Regions from separate parts of the Homo sapiens genome. Here region 1 is linked to region 2. Evidence: promoter capture Hi-C in 16 types of primary human blood cells and fetal thymus (Javierre and others, 2016). All regions are on one chromosome and are shown on one strand. The core of a region is centred on a gene start or on the middle of the fragment in contact, and the rest is flanking DNA. Distances in the headings are between cores, read along the strand shown.

Region 1 (6,864 bases), core at 2,844-5,343, 2.1 Mb before region 2:
GTAAAGGTCATAAGGCTAATTTGGCAGTTAACATTTTGCTCAAAACCATACAGTGGTTTAATTCTTTTAAAAAGATCTGTGTTTGTGAAATGAATTACACAGTATCTAAGATTAATTATAGGATCCTAACAAAAACAGATAAACATAAAAGGACTTTTTTGGAAAGTCGGGACTATAGCAAGTGATACAGATAAATTTCCCAATTGCTGCACACATAGATCTGGAAACAACATACCTTTAAGTACTACTCTGGCTCCTTTTGAATGAGCGTAGCACATAAGTTCTGAGTCATATTTTCCAAATGTTGCCACAGTTGTAATCTGTGACCAATCATAAGATTTCCAAGTTTTCTGTCCAACATCAAACACAAAGACCTGCCAGAACAAAGATGAGCACCATCATTTAAACCAAGAATATTATGCTGACCGTCCAAAATACCGTTCATCAAACATCACCATACACCAAACACTATGGTGGCAGTGAGAGTACAAGTGCATAAGACATAGGGGTCCCAAGATAATTGGTGGCAGGGGTAATTAGCCAGGCTGGGAAAGAGGGGAAGGATGGGCCAGGAAGGAAGAGTGGCAAGTGCCAAGGCCTGGAGGCAGAGACAACATGGTGGTTGCGTAACTAAATATTTAGTATGGCCGACGTCTAGAATTTGGGGAGAGAGCATTAGTGAAGGACCAGAGAGTAGTAGGCATGGATTAAATCATGAAAGGCCTCATAAGCTCTGTTGAGAAGTTAGTACTACCTTGTTTATCCTGAGGTAAAGGGAGAGAATAAAAGCATTTTTAAAAGGGGAAGGTATGCATTTTAGAAAAATATTTTCAGCTGCAGTGGGAAAAGGATTAAAGAGACACCAAAACTGGAGGCAGAATACAGAAACTGTTGGAGGAATCCAAGTAAGAGATGATGGTGACCTCAACTAAAATTGTGGAGCAGTGGCGTTAAGTGAACAGATCTGGAAGATCCTAAGGAGGCAAAATTGACAGGACTTTGTGACTAATCGAATGAGTAATCAAAGGAGAGAAGTCTGATAATACTCAAGTTTCTGGCTACTGCAGATGGAGCCATAAATACATTTACTGTTTTTTGTTTGTTTGGTGAAGCTAGCTTCTTAGAATAGTACCTAGGTCAAATTCTAAGGCACCTGATGTTGTGTTTCTCTGATATTTTCTTCCCACAGTTAATTCAAGAAGCACAGAAGCCTCACTGATTATTTTTATTTTATTCCAAGGCATTAATTCATTGATTTGGCAAATATTTATTGAATTTCCAATAAGGTACAAGGAGAGTATTTTGCTAGGCTCTAAGGAGATAAAGATTAATGAGAGAGACCAGGTCCAGTAAGGAGTTAACTACTTAATTACAATGGTATTAAGGACTGTAGGGGTTACAGGGGGCCACGCCAGCATATAAAGGGGACCTGCTAGCCAGATGGTGCACGAAAACTTTTCTGAGGACTACACACTTTCGGAGTGGGCTGAAATCAGCAGAATGATGGAAGAGATATACCTATGGACAAAAGATTGCATTCTCAACTGAGGGAAGGGAAAGCCCAAAGGTCGCTACACCTCAGGAGAATTCTGAGATTCTGGAACTGAAAAAGGTCAATGTAGGTAGAGCACAGAAATCCTGCAAGTATGTGGAACTGGATAAAACCTTTAAAGTCGGTAGTGGAAAGATTAAGTAGGACTTCCAAGACCACTGAAGATGTTGTATTTTATCTTGGGATCAGTGGGAATCAATTAGAGTTTTAATTCAGGGGATATGCATTACAAAAGAGATCACTGGGTCCTTGTGAGGGGAATGAATGAGGGAGAGACAGTGGGGATAGCAGCTGTAAAAGTTAAACCAGGCATTTCTTAATTTTTTTTAATTTTTTTTAACTTTTCAGAATTAATTATGCATAACTCATTTTTTCTGCTAAGCAATTGCCTACTGAAATAATAAAAATTCATAATGTGAAATTAAGTGGCCCATTGTTTTCTGACTCATATTTCTATCAAAACTTCTATTTTAGTTCTGATAATTAAGATTCTATTTGTTTAAAAAATACTAAGAGCCTGTGATATAACAGATATCCTTAAAAAAAAAAAAAGCTGGGTGAACTAATTGAAAATATAAGGGGAAAATGCCATGTAGTCTAGTTTTTGTGTTTGAAAAACATAGAAAACGCCAGTAGAGAAAAAGACCATTTACCATGAAGATACAAATAAGCATAATTTTGCTTCTTTGAATAGTTGGTTTTCAAAGTGCCCACAGATATTGCCTAACCCACTAAGTATTGGGTACTACAGTAAATCTTTCAGGTTTTTTTTTTTTCTCTTTTTTGAGACATAGTCTTGCTCTGTCGCCCAGGCTGGAGTGCAGTGGCGTGATCTTGGCTAACTGCAACCTTCCGCCTCCCGCTCCGCCTCCCAGGTTCAAGCGGTTCTCCTGCCTCAGCCTCCCAAGTAGTTCGGATTACATGTGCCCGCCACCACGCCCAGCTAATTTTTGTATTTTTAGTAGAGACGGGGTTTCACCATGTTGGCCAGGCTGTTCTCGAATTCCTGACCTCAAGTGATCCACCCACCTTGGCCTCACAAAGTGCTTCTCAATCTCAAAAAGAGATTGAGAAAATTAAGAAATGTCTGGTTGAACTTTTACAGCTACTGTCCCCACTGCCTCTACCACCGCGCTGGGCCTCAGATTGTATAAAACATTTTAATTGGGAGGCCATTATGCTGAAACAGCTCCAACTGCCTTGGATTTCCTGCTTAAGCAAACTCCAGCCCAAGGTCAACAGTGAAAGGAAACTTAAGCTTAACCTATCAGAAACTGCCAACTAACCTCTAACTAGTAATTTTCCACCAAGTCATAGCTAAATAAGGCAAACAGTCATAGCCAACCAAGTAATTATTTTCCTTTGCTTCCCTGTTCGGCCTATAAAAGCCCATGCTACTAAAGCAGACCTCTCTGAACCCCTTCTGGTTTAAGTACTGCCGATTCATAAGTTGTTCTTTGCTCAAATAAAAAAGGTTATCCTACTTTGTCTGAAGTCTTTCTTTTAATAAGATGTTAGGTTTCCACACTAGGCAGGTTCTCCATAAACACTTTCACCATTTTTATTTCTTCTCCTAAGTCATGTATATATACTTTTTTACTGGCATCTAAGTGTTCTGCCTCAGATTAATGTACTAGATTAAGAACTAGGAATCATGCCTATTTCTACAAAAGAATCGTTCTTTGAATTAAGCCTTTGGACCTTCCTGATGTCATCCAATTCCTGCTTTCAGTCATCGAAGTGGGCAGTCAGGTGGTTTTAATATTGCTCCAGAAGGTGTTTGATTAAAGTTGCCAGAAGCCTTACAAATTGTTATGTAGATAGAAGGAAAATGTACTGAAAGCTATTTTTTTTACCACTCTTCATGGGTGGTTTTGAGGTACTTTAAAGGAAAGGGCTAGCAGGTATAGAAAACTAAAGGTAAGCAAAATACTCTGCATTCTAATGTACTGTTGGAGTGCTGAGATTCTTTCAAACGAAATCCTCGTTCCTTGGAAACATAAATGGATTATCCTACCTTGTTTGCTTTTTACACCCAGAGTGCTTCCGCAGAGGCACAGCAGGGGAATGAAAGGAGCTTGCCTTAGGAGGCAGATCTGGTTTGAACTCTCGCCTGCCTACGCAGGCACTTACAGGCTGTGAGGCCTGAGGAGTTACTCAACTTCTCTGAGCCCGAGCTTCCTCATCTATAAATTGAAGGATCCGTAAACAGGAAGGCCCTCATCGAGTGGTCAAAGCTGGTTTCGGCGCCCACGGCACCTCTCCTTAGGGCTCCGTTCTACCCTAACTTCTCTTCGTGCCCTGAAGCCCAGACCTAGAGGAGCAGAGGAAGGCGCTGACCTCGAAATCTGGATGGTGGCGAATCGGGCGGCAGAGCTCAGGCTCCGGGCATGGGCAGTCGGTCCCGGCCGCGAGCCGCAGCGCCAGCAGCGCCAGCAGCGCCAGCAGCGCTAGACCCGGGACGCCGCTCGGCGGGCTAGAGACGAGGCGCCAGCGTCGAAGCTGCGGCCGGGACATAGCAGCAGGTCTAGCGGGCCGGAGTGGGTTCCTACCGCCTGGGTGGGCGGGGCCTGCTGCGCGTCGGGGCAGGAAGGGGCGGGGAGAGTCGGGAAGGGCGGGGAGGGGCGGGAGGGGCGGGGCTCCGGGGCGGGCGTGGGAGGTCGGGCTTCGAGCGTCCCCGGGCGCTACAGGTGGGTGAAGTTAAGTGGCTGCTGGAGCGTCTCGGGGGACAGCCAGTGTCTGCGGCGCCGAGAGGGCCGTTCGTGGACTCAAATGGGTATCACCCCTACCGTTTATAGTCCTCCCAATAGTCTGCATCTCGTTTTGTCGTGGCTGGTCGTGTACTCCTTGTGGAGTCTGAAGGTACAAGGGGATCCCCAAAATGGAGAAGTGGGTGTCTTTGGAAGGGCCTACTGAGTAACATGGTTGGAGTGGCCAAAAGACTTTGTTTTTCTTTTGCTACTCAAAAGAAAGCTGGAATACCAAAAATTTTTACTTACGGATATCAGGTCTTAGTTAAGATCGTGGTTTGAATTCAAGCATCTAATTTTGCCTACTCTCCTGTTAAAAATCAAGTTTAACAACCTAAACACAAGGACAAAGAGATAACAGCAACAAAATGTTGGAAGCTGGAGAGCACAAGTATGAGTATGAGAGGTAAATCGGAAAAGGGGGAGATTAGTCAAAGGCTGCTCAAGGACTCTGATCGCTAGATCCTTTTTCCAGCTTCATGTCTCTGGGCAGCTGCCCCTCTTTCCCACCACGGGCTCCCACCCCGGCTGAATTCCCTGAAGGGGATAAATTCTCTGCTGAGTGGGTATTCCACCTAAAACGGAGAATAAGTGGCTTTATGCCTACTGAAAACTGAAACCCCTCGCTATCTGATTAACCTAAGAGGCTGAGCAAAGATACTGACATCGGGTTTTCTGGACAAATCATACACCCAGATCACCCTACAGTGAAATTCAAAGTTAAAAGCACCAGCTATCTACTTGGAGCTTCCTCTCTTTGTACTTTTTAATTTTTACTTTTAATCATGGACAGCAACCAAAAAAATCCAATAATGTAGAAAGAAGGGACCCAAACAACAGACAAAGGAATATGGAGGAAGCAGATGCTGCAGGGAGAACACTTTTAAAAATTCTCATAATAGCCCCAGAAAAATAAGAGAAGATGAAGCCACAACAGGGTGCAATAAAAGGGGTAGGGGATTTTTAAAAGTTAATAGAAATAAGAAAGAAGTGAAAAAACTATTAGTAGAAGATAACACTGAGGAATGTAGAGCAAAAACTCTGAAAGATAAGAAAATTGGAAAACGCAGTACAGAGGGGATGAAATAAATAATTCTTAAAGGTGCTTGAGAAGCAGCGTAGTACAAATAAGAAGAAATAAGTAATTTGGGCTGGGCACAGTGGTTCATGCTTGTAATCCCGGCACTGTGGGAGGCCGAGGTGGGCAGATCACTTGAGCTCAGGAGTTTGAGACCAGCCTGGCCAACATTGTGAAACCCCATCTCTACTAAAAATACAAAAATTATCTGGGCATGGTGGCAGACACCTGTAATCCCAGCTACTCGGAAGGCTGAGGCAGGAGAATCGCTTGAACCTGGGAGGTGGAGGTTGCAGAGATCACACCACTGCACTCCAGCCTCAGCAACAGAGTGAGACTCTGTCTCCAAAAAAAAAAAAAAAAAAGAAAAGAAAAGAAATAAGTAATTATCAAGGCTCCAGGACTGAAGAACACGCGTTTTCAGAATGAAAAGCTAGGCCAGGCACTGTGGCTCACACCTGCAATTGCATAACTTTGGCAGGCCAAGGCAGGAGGATTACTTGAGGGCAGGAGTTTGAGACCAGCCTGGGGAACATAGACCCTGTCTCTACAAAAAATAAAAAGCAAAAAATTAGCCCTGTGTGCCAGTGCGGTGGTAAAAGCTTGTAGTCCCAGCTGCTCGGGAGGCTGAGATGAGAGGATTGCTTGAAGCCGGGAGGTTGAGGCTGAAGTGAACTATGATCATGCCACTGCACTCCAGCCTGGGTGACAAAACAAGATCCTGTCTCAAAAAAAAAAAAAGTACAATTGAACCTCCATAACCAGAGGTTCCACATCCATGGTTTTAACCAATGTCAGATAACAGTATTTAAAAATAACAAATAATACAGCAATTTAAAAATGCAAATAAAAATACGGCAAGAGCACTGTCAACATAGCATTACATCGTATTATTATAATTAATCTAGAGATTATTTGAAGTACAGGAGGATGTGCATAGATTATGCCATTTTATATAAGGGACTTGAGCATCCATGGATTTTGGTATCTGGGAGTCCTGGAACCAATCCCTCATGATACTGAAATGTAACTATGTTTTTAACATGAATGGTTGCACTGAATCAAGTTTTCAAGGAAAAGAGCCTTCTGACTCATAGAATCAGACTGTATTCTGTGACACAGAAGAAAACACATATCTACCTGTGTTAGGGATCCCTAAGATCACCTCCAGGTTCAGTGATGCACTAAAAGAACTCATAGGACTCAGTTGTACTCACAGTTAAGATTTATTACAGCAGAAGAATATGAAGCAAAAGAGCAAAGGGAAAAAGTGCACAGGAAGAAGACAGGAGGAGGCCAAGCACAAGCATCACGTTGTAACATGTGTGAAGGGCTGTCTGCCATGGAAGCTCATTAGAGACTCAGGGAACAGCAGGAACACTCCCAAATCCACCTACAGGCCAACCTTCAGGAAGCAGGCCTTTCTAAAGATCGCAGTCTTAGGCCTGTTACGGTAACTCTTTTCTGCATACTAACCAAATGAG
Region 2 (6,487 bases), core at 1-2,500:
ATTCAGGGACACCACTGTGTCCACCATTAAAGAATTTCCCCTTTAATGGTGGACACGGTGGTGTGATCCTTTTGTAGAGACGAGCATAGGTTATGGCAAATATACCTACTTTAAAAACAGTGCTCTGGGAAGAGAGTAAGTGCTTTTCCACATAAAGATCTAAAATAGACAATAAATGAGAAATAGGGTTTTTTATTATATATTCATTTTTCCATATTTCTGGAAAATGAAACAGACATGGAGTATTTCAAAGCTGGGAGAGATCATTATATTGGAGTTACCTTAGAAAGAGGGGGCTGTTTCTGCCACCACAACAAAGAATGAAACAACACAAATATTTACGTTTTCTTCTTGTCCTCATAATGCTTTTACTGCACTCGTCTTTCAACCTTTAACATCTACTGCATCTGTGACTGTTGTTTCAGTAAAACACGGAAGCTTGAATGTAAGCTCATTTCATTGCCTGCTGCACAACCACACAAAACAGCATTTTCTTATTCTTGAAATATGATAGCAACGTCTCCTTCCATGCTTGTACCTGTTTTAATTCCTTTCAAGCAGAGGCTGTATCGTGAAAGATGCTTAAGAAGTTACTTGGAACGACAGGATTTGGAACGGATGTCACATCATATTCTCATTTGTTATTAAAATTAGTCACGCTTAATTGTTAAGGACTATCCTGTGTCGCTCGCCATCTTTGTGTCCTCCACCTGGCACTTTGCTTTCACACAGTAGGCACATAGCGTTGAGGTCCCGGAAGGTTGTCAAGTAACCGGCCAGGAGCTTGAGGGCAGGACATTGTCTCCGACACTTGATTCAGTGCCTGGCACACAGGAGGTATTCAATTATGCTGAATGAATGAGCAACCGGCTCGGTGGGGGACAGTAAACCCAACCCTATTCCGCGAACGTTTGCTGAGCGGCATCCAGGCCTCAGGGACCAAGTGTGTCGCGCGGTGCCATACCGTGACCGGGACCTGTTATTTCTAATGTCCAGATATTGTAATTCTATGCTGTAACTCCTATATTTCCTCTTAAAACAAAAAGAGAAATGTGGGTCGTGTTCGCTCTGGGTTCTCGTTAAGTGCAAGCATACAGAGGCGCCGAGACCCCGCGGCTCGCCCTCGCCGCTTCCTCCACAGGAGCCGGGCGGAGCTCCCGGCGCGCCCCGGGGCTGCGCCGCCGCAATCCTCAAGGGGTCGCTGTTCCCGCGATAACCTCGAGAAAGGCTCCGCCCCGCGGCCCGCGCTTGTTTTTCCCTTGGGACCCGGGTCCACACGGCGGGGTCGCCCGTCCATCTCCGGCTCGCCCGCGGGGCCCATCGTCGACGTTAGCGGCCGTTCTCCGAGCCGACTGACCCATCCTTGGCGCTGCCGCCGCGCGCTTGTTCTCCTCCCTCGCCCCGCCTTCATCCTCCCCGTTCACGGAAACGACAGCTGCGGCTGCGGGGCTGGCGCCGCCTCCCTCCACCTACCACGTCTGCCCTCGCCGCTCTAGCCCTGCGCCCCAGCCCGGCCGCGGCACCTCCGCCTCGCCGCCGCTAGGTCGGCCGGCTCCGCCCGGCTGCCGCCTAGGATGAATATCATGGACTTCAACGTGAAGAAGCTGGCGGCCGACGCAGGCACCTTCCTCAGTCGCGCCGTGCAGGTACCCTGGTGCTGGGGGGAAAAGGGGTGGCGGCGCCCGGGAAGGTTGAGGGAGGGGACCGCAGCTCGACGCGGCGCCCCCGGGCCTCGCCGACCACCCAGCGGGCCTGCTGCAGCCAGAGGCCTGGGAGATGGGCGCGGCCTGGTCCCCTCCCCGGGCCCGGCGGCGGATTTCTGCCCCGCTCCTGCCCAACCGCCGCTCCCTGGGAAGCGAGGCGGGGTGGGGACGGGGCCGGGAGCTTCCTCCCACCCCTGGGGAACACTAAGGCTGCACTGTCCGCCTTTCTGATACCACGACGTCAGTGCTCCTGTGGCCTCCACCCCGGGGCTGGCGGAGGCTTGCGAGTCCTTTGCGGTAACCGAGACACAGGCCATTCTTGCACTACCCCCCACCCTTTCCTTTCGTCTCTCACCCTCCCCTCGGAGTCCAAGAAGGGAGTTTCCTTTTCCTGTCCTTCAACCCAGAGAGCTGCCAACACAGTTCCCTCCGGCCCTCTTTCTCCCTGAAAGGACTGTCCTGGGCTTGGCAGCCCGCGGGGGAAATGGAGATCGCCAGTTGGCGTTGAGACTTTGCCAAGACCACAAGAAACCTAGGGTTGGGGGGTTTTCACTCTTTTTCAAAATGGGAAGCACCAGCTGTAGATCAAGGAGAGATGCGGGGATATTGTTATGGCTGTAGTCACAGTAGTATGTTTTAAATATACTTTAAGGGGAAAAGTTGACTACCTCTCGATATTCTACAATCAAGGAAGTGTCAGTACTAAGGAACTTGGGCCGTTTCCCACAGTCATCACCCATGTTATGCCAACTCAGTAAATCTGTGAACAGATGTAAATTTCACAACATGAATTATAAACAATCTGGTGTTTACGGTCACGGTAGCAACAACATTCTCTTTTGTAAAAAGAAAACAAAAATAATTTTCTAATATGCATACCAAATTGGTGCTGAAATGTAAATCTGTTCTGTGGCTTTACTACTTTCCTTGCCTTTGCCCCAATTTTGTTGGCACAGTTGATCCTACATTGCACTATCCCTGGCAAAAGAGTAGTAGAGCTAGAGCAAGGTAATAGCTGCCTATATTATGAAAAACCTGTCAAGCACTTTGTAATGCATTTGACATATTATCTCCAGTCTTTTCCATAACTTTGCCAGATAGATGTTATTAACCCCTTTTATATATGTGAGGAAGCAGCCTTACTGAGGTTAAGAAACTTGCACAACTAGTAAATAACCAGGTGCTGTCTGACCTAGTACTCCCAGCTGCTTTTTCTTCCGGGATAAGCATTCCAGATTTAAGATAGCTAGAATAATAGAATGCTGTGGCCTAGAGAGACCTTAAAAATCATCTGGTTCAATCTGAGCATTTCCATATCAACAAGCAAGTAACACTTTAGAGATGGTAAATTCCTTCTAGCTTTTGATTTCTAAGTTCTAAAATCTGCATGGTGAGTAATAAGCTAGCTGCCTTAACCCTTTTCTTCCCTTCCTTCCCTAAAATATGATATATTGTAGACGTTGAGCCTTTATAGTTAAAATAATGTTTTGATTTAAATTCACTAGCTTCTAATAGTTCAAAGACAAGGTGCAAGAAGAATGAGTGATTGAGGGTGTGAAATGAATTTTGATGTGTGAGACACTTGTACACTTTTAACATTGACTGCAATAGAGGACTAGAGCCCTTGGTATTTTTGTTTGTCCTAGTGCTCATTACCTATAATTCTAGATGCTTATGAGGATTTGACACTGTATAATGCTACTCTTTTAAATACAGTTAAATATGTTTCAGACGTATAACTCACACCCCTTAAAGAGGACACATTTACTAGAATTTAGTCTGATTTAAATTGTGGATAGACTCAATTTAAAAAATTAAATCTAGCAAAGCTCTCAAAATGTGTACTTCCCAAAGAATTTTAATTCCTTGTTTCAAATTCTTTAGGAAAAAGTTTTAAATTTTATGCTAATCTGTTAGCCATCAAATAATTTTCTTTTCAGTTTTAAATATTTAAGTGTCTACTGCATGTCTGATGTCTGCTTGTGGCTACTGTGGACACTGGTGATACAGCAGTGAATAAAATCAGCAAAGTGTCTGCCCTCCTGAAGCTTACATTGTAGCGGAAGATAAGCTTGTAAATACATCAGGTGGTGATAAAAATCATGGCCAGAAGAATAGAATAACGCAGAGATGGTGGTTGTTAATATCTTTATTAGTATTTTCTAACATTAGTATCGTGTATAGATAGGATGGTCAGGGCAAGTCTTTCTAATAGGATGAAATTCAAGAGACCTCAAGGAAGTGACAGACCTAGTTTTTTTTGGAATAAAAGTATTTCAGGCAGCAGGAAGAAGTACAAAGACTGAAGTTTCAGGGGCATTAAGGAGACCAATGAAGGAGCTGTGGCCATAATACACGTAAAAGGCGATTGTAACTTAGATTACAGTGGTAGCAGTGAAGGTTCCAAATTATCCAGTATTGGCTGTTGGATTGGCTGTGAGGTATGAGAGAAAGATGAGTTAAGGATGACTCCAAGGTTTTGGCTTGAGCCGTTTATTAAGGGAAAAATTTTAGGAGAAACAGACTTCTTTAATGTGTCTGTAATTGTTAGAGATACATACTGAAATGTTTATGGATAAACTTATATCATATCTGAGATTTGGTTTTTACAGGGTATTTTTTTTTTTTTTTTTTTTTGAGATGGAGTTTGGCTCTTGTTGCCCAGGCTGGAGTGCAATGGCGCGATCTCAGCTCATTGCAACCTTCGCCTCCCCGATTCAAGCCAATCTCCTGCCTCCGTCTTTCAAGTAACTGGAATTACAGGCAGGCTCCACCACGCCCAGCTAATTTTGCATTTTTAGTAGAGATGGGGTTTCACCATGTTGGTCAGGCTGGTCTTGAACTCCTGACCTCAGGATCCACCTGCTTCGGCCTCCCAAAGTGCTGGGATTACAGGTGTGAGCCACCACACCAGTTGAGATTAGCGTTTGAATATTTCAAAAGAAAAAAACAGAAGTCGCTGAAACAACAGCAACGGAATGTTGATAGTTGTGGAAGGTTGGTTATGGGTTCATGAGGTTTCATTATACTGTTATACTTTTGTATGTTTGACATTTTCCATAATACTTTTTTAAAGATAAAATTTGTAAGAAAAAAAGGATGCTTCTAAAATAGAACATGTGAAATTTGGAATGCTGTGTGGTAGTTTTCAACAAAACACTGCTTTCTCATCTCAGTATTTATTTCATCACTGAGTTCCTACATTAAATTGCATTGACATCAGTATAATGCCAAAGTACCAAGTTTCATGCTAAGAATAGCTTAAGAGCTATGCCAATATCTCTTTATAAGCAGTAAGAACAGTAGAGAGAGAAACATTCACGTTTATAAATAATAATTTTCATTCAAATCAAATTGTACCGTAAGGAATATGCCATTCTTTGGTTGGCCAACGCCATACATTGTTTTCCATTTTACTTAAAAATTTCTAAGTTAAAAATTAAACATGTTTCTTGTTTTAAAAAAAGGTCAGCTCAAACTAGTAAAGCACATAGATGCGTCCCATCACCACTCCACTTCCCTCCTTTTAAAATTTGTTTATAAGCCTTGGTACTTTAAAAAGAATGTTAGACTAGAATGTATAAATGAGTAGGAATGTTTATTCTTAACTAGCCCATTTGGGTGCTTGTTTTTAAGTACCTCAAGATGGTAAAATACAAAAGTATCAGGTAATTCACCCTTGCTTAATTGTTATTTTACTAGAGTTTTAAATGCCATTTATTCTTAGAATCCATCTTTTTAGTCCAAACTTCTTAGTTGAGCATTAAATACTCCCTTACAATCTGGTCCTTTCTCTCACTTATATAAACACTGTATTCCAAATTATTTTTTAATTTCCAAAATATCTTCTACTTATTTTAGGCTTTTGTTCATATGGTTAGACTCCTCTTAAGTGTCCTGTCTGCCTATTCTTTCCTTTCCTTAAGATACAACTTTATTCATCTCCAAAATGGAGAGAGTAAAAAAAATTTTAAAATAAAAGTAAAATAAACTTTTTTTAAAGATATAGCTTCAAATCCATCTCAGCTGATAAGGCTTCTTAGACCACAAGAGCTTGCTGTGAAATCGTGAATCATTTTCAATTCCAAATGATGAGGTGGCACTTTTCTTCTAATGAACTGTTATGTTAGATCTCTTGGAACTCTAAAGTTCTGTTACTCTGACTTTCTTTAATAAGTTTGTATGTGCTAAGGCATCAACTCTGTTTCTTATTCCCCTCTTACAACATCTAACATGGTTCATCTTTTATATCATTTTAGCCAGGCAAATTACCATCCATATGTGAAGTTTAATCTTTGAAGGGCAACAATAAGCATGTTAAATAACAGTATCTTTATTAGTATTTTCTAACATTGTTTGCGGACCTTGAAGTTAACTAATACCAGTATAAATTGAGTACCTCCTAGGTGCTTGGCGTTGAAAGATACAAAGCTGAATGAGACCCTGTTCCTGCCCTCAGAGACTTCATAATAATAGTCTCAAACTTGTCATAAATCTTATTTGTACTAAATAGCCATTTTGTGAATAACTTTATTTGATAAATCTTTCAAGTGGATAAAGGAACAAGAGATGTGTTTTTAACTCAGAATTCTTATTGAAGCAAAACCTTGCTCACCATCATTAAAATAAGAGCAAAGACTTTCTAAAAAGAATTTTTCAAATCAAATTACTTAGGGAGGGAGTTCATTTTAATTTTCTAACATTTCCTCTAAACTGATTATTAAAGTCATACTATGAAATTCGTGAACACCAGCTATTTTCTAAGGAATATAGTTCTTAAAATA

Evidence for each region. Contacts are between HindIII fragments. The CHiCAGO score rates a contact against its expected background, and 5 or more counts as called.
Region 1: a contact is called between the fragment with the promoter of CTBS here and the fragment with the promoter of SH3GLB1 in region 2, in 1 of 17 cell types (activated CD4 T cells). The highest score is 5.2, in activated CD4 T cells.

The regions. Positions count from the first base shown.
Region 1 is chr1:84,570,347-84,577,210 of GRCh38, forward strand. It overlaps CTBS (chitobiase), which reads right to left and starts at 4,094. Exons shown (of 7, transcript NM_004388.3): 1 at 3,893-4,094; 2 at 236-374. The coding sequence starts at 4,069. RefSeq lists enhancers at 2,684-2,733, 3,447-3,546, 3,657-3,946 and a silencer at 4,107-4,226. The HindIII fragment of the contact is 3,172 bases long and covers 2,809-5,980 here.
Region 2 is chr1:86,703,326-86,709,812 of GRCh38, forward strand. It overlaps SH3GLB1 (SH3 domain containing GRB2 like, endophilin B1), which reads left to right and starts at 1,251. Exons shown (of 9, transcript NM_016009.5): 1 at 1,251-1,646. The coding sequence starts at 1,575. It overlaps CLCA4-AS1 (CLCA4 antisense RNA 1), which reads right to left and starts at 1,168. Exons shown (of 5, transcript NR_135837.1): 1 at 282-1,168. RefSeq lists enhancers at 455-524, 1,089-1,590 and a silencer at 1,415-1,904. The HindIII fragment of the contact is 3,313 bases long and covers 437-3,749 here.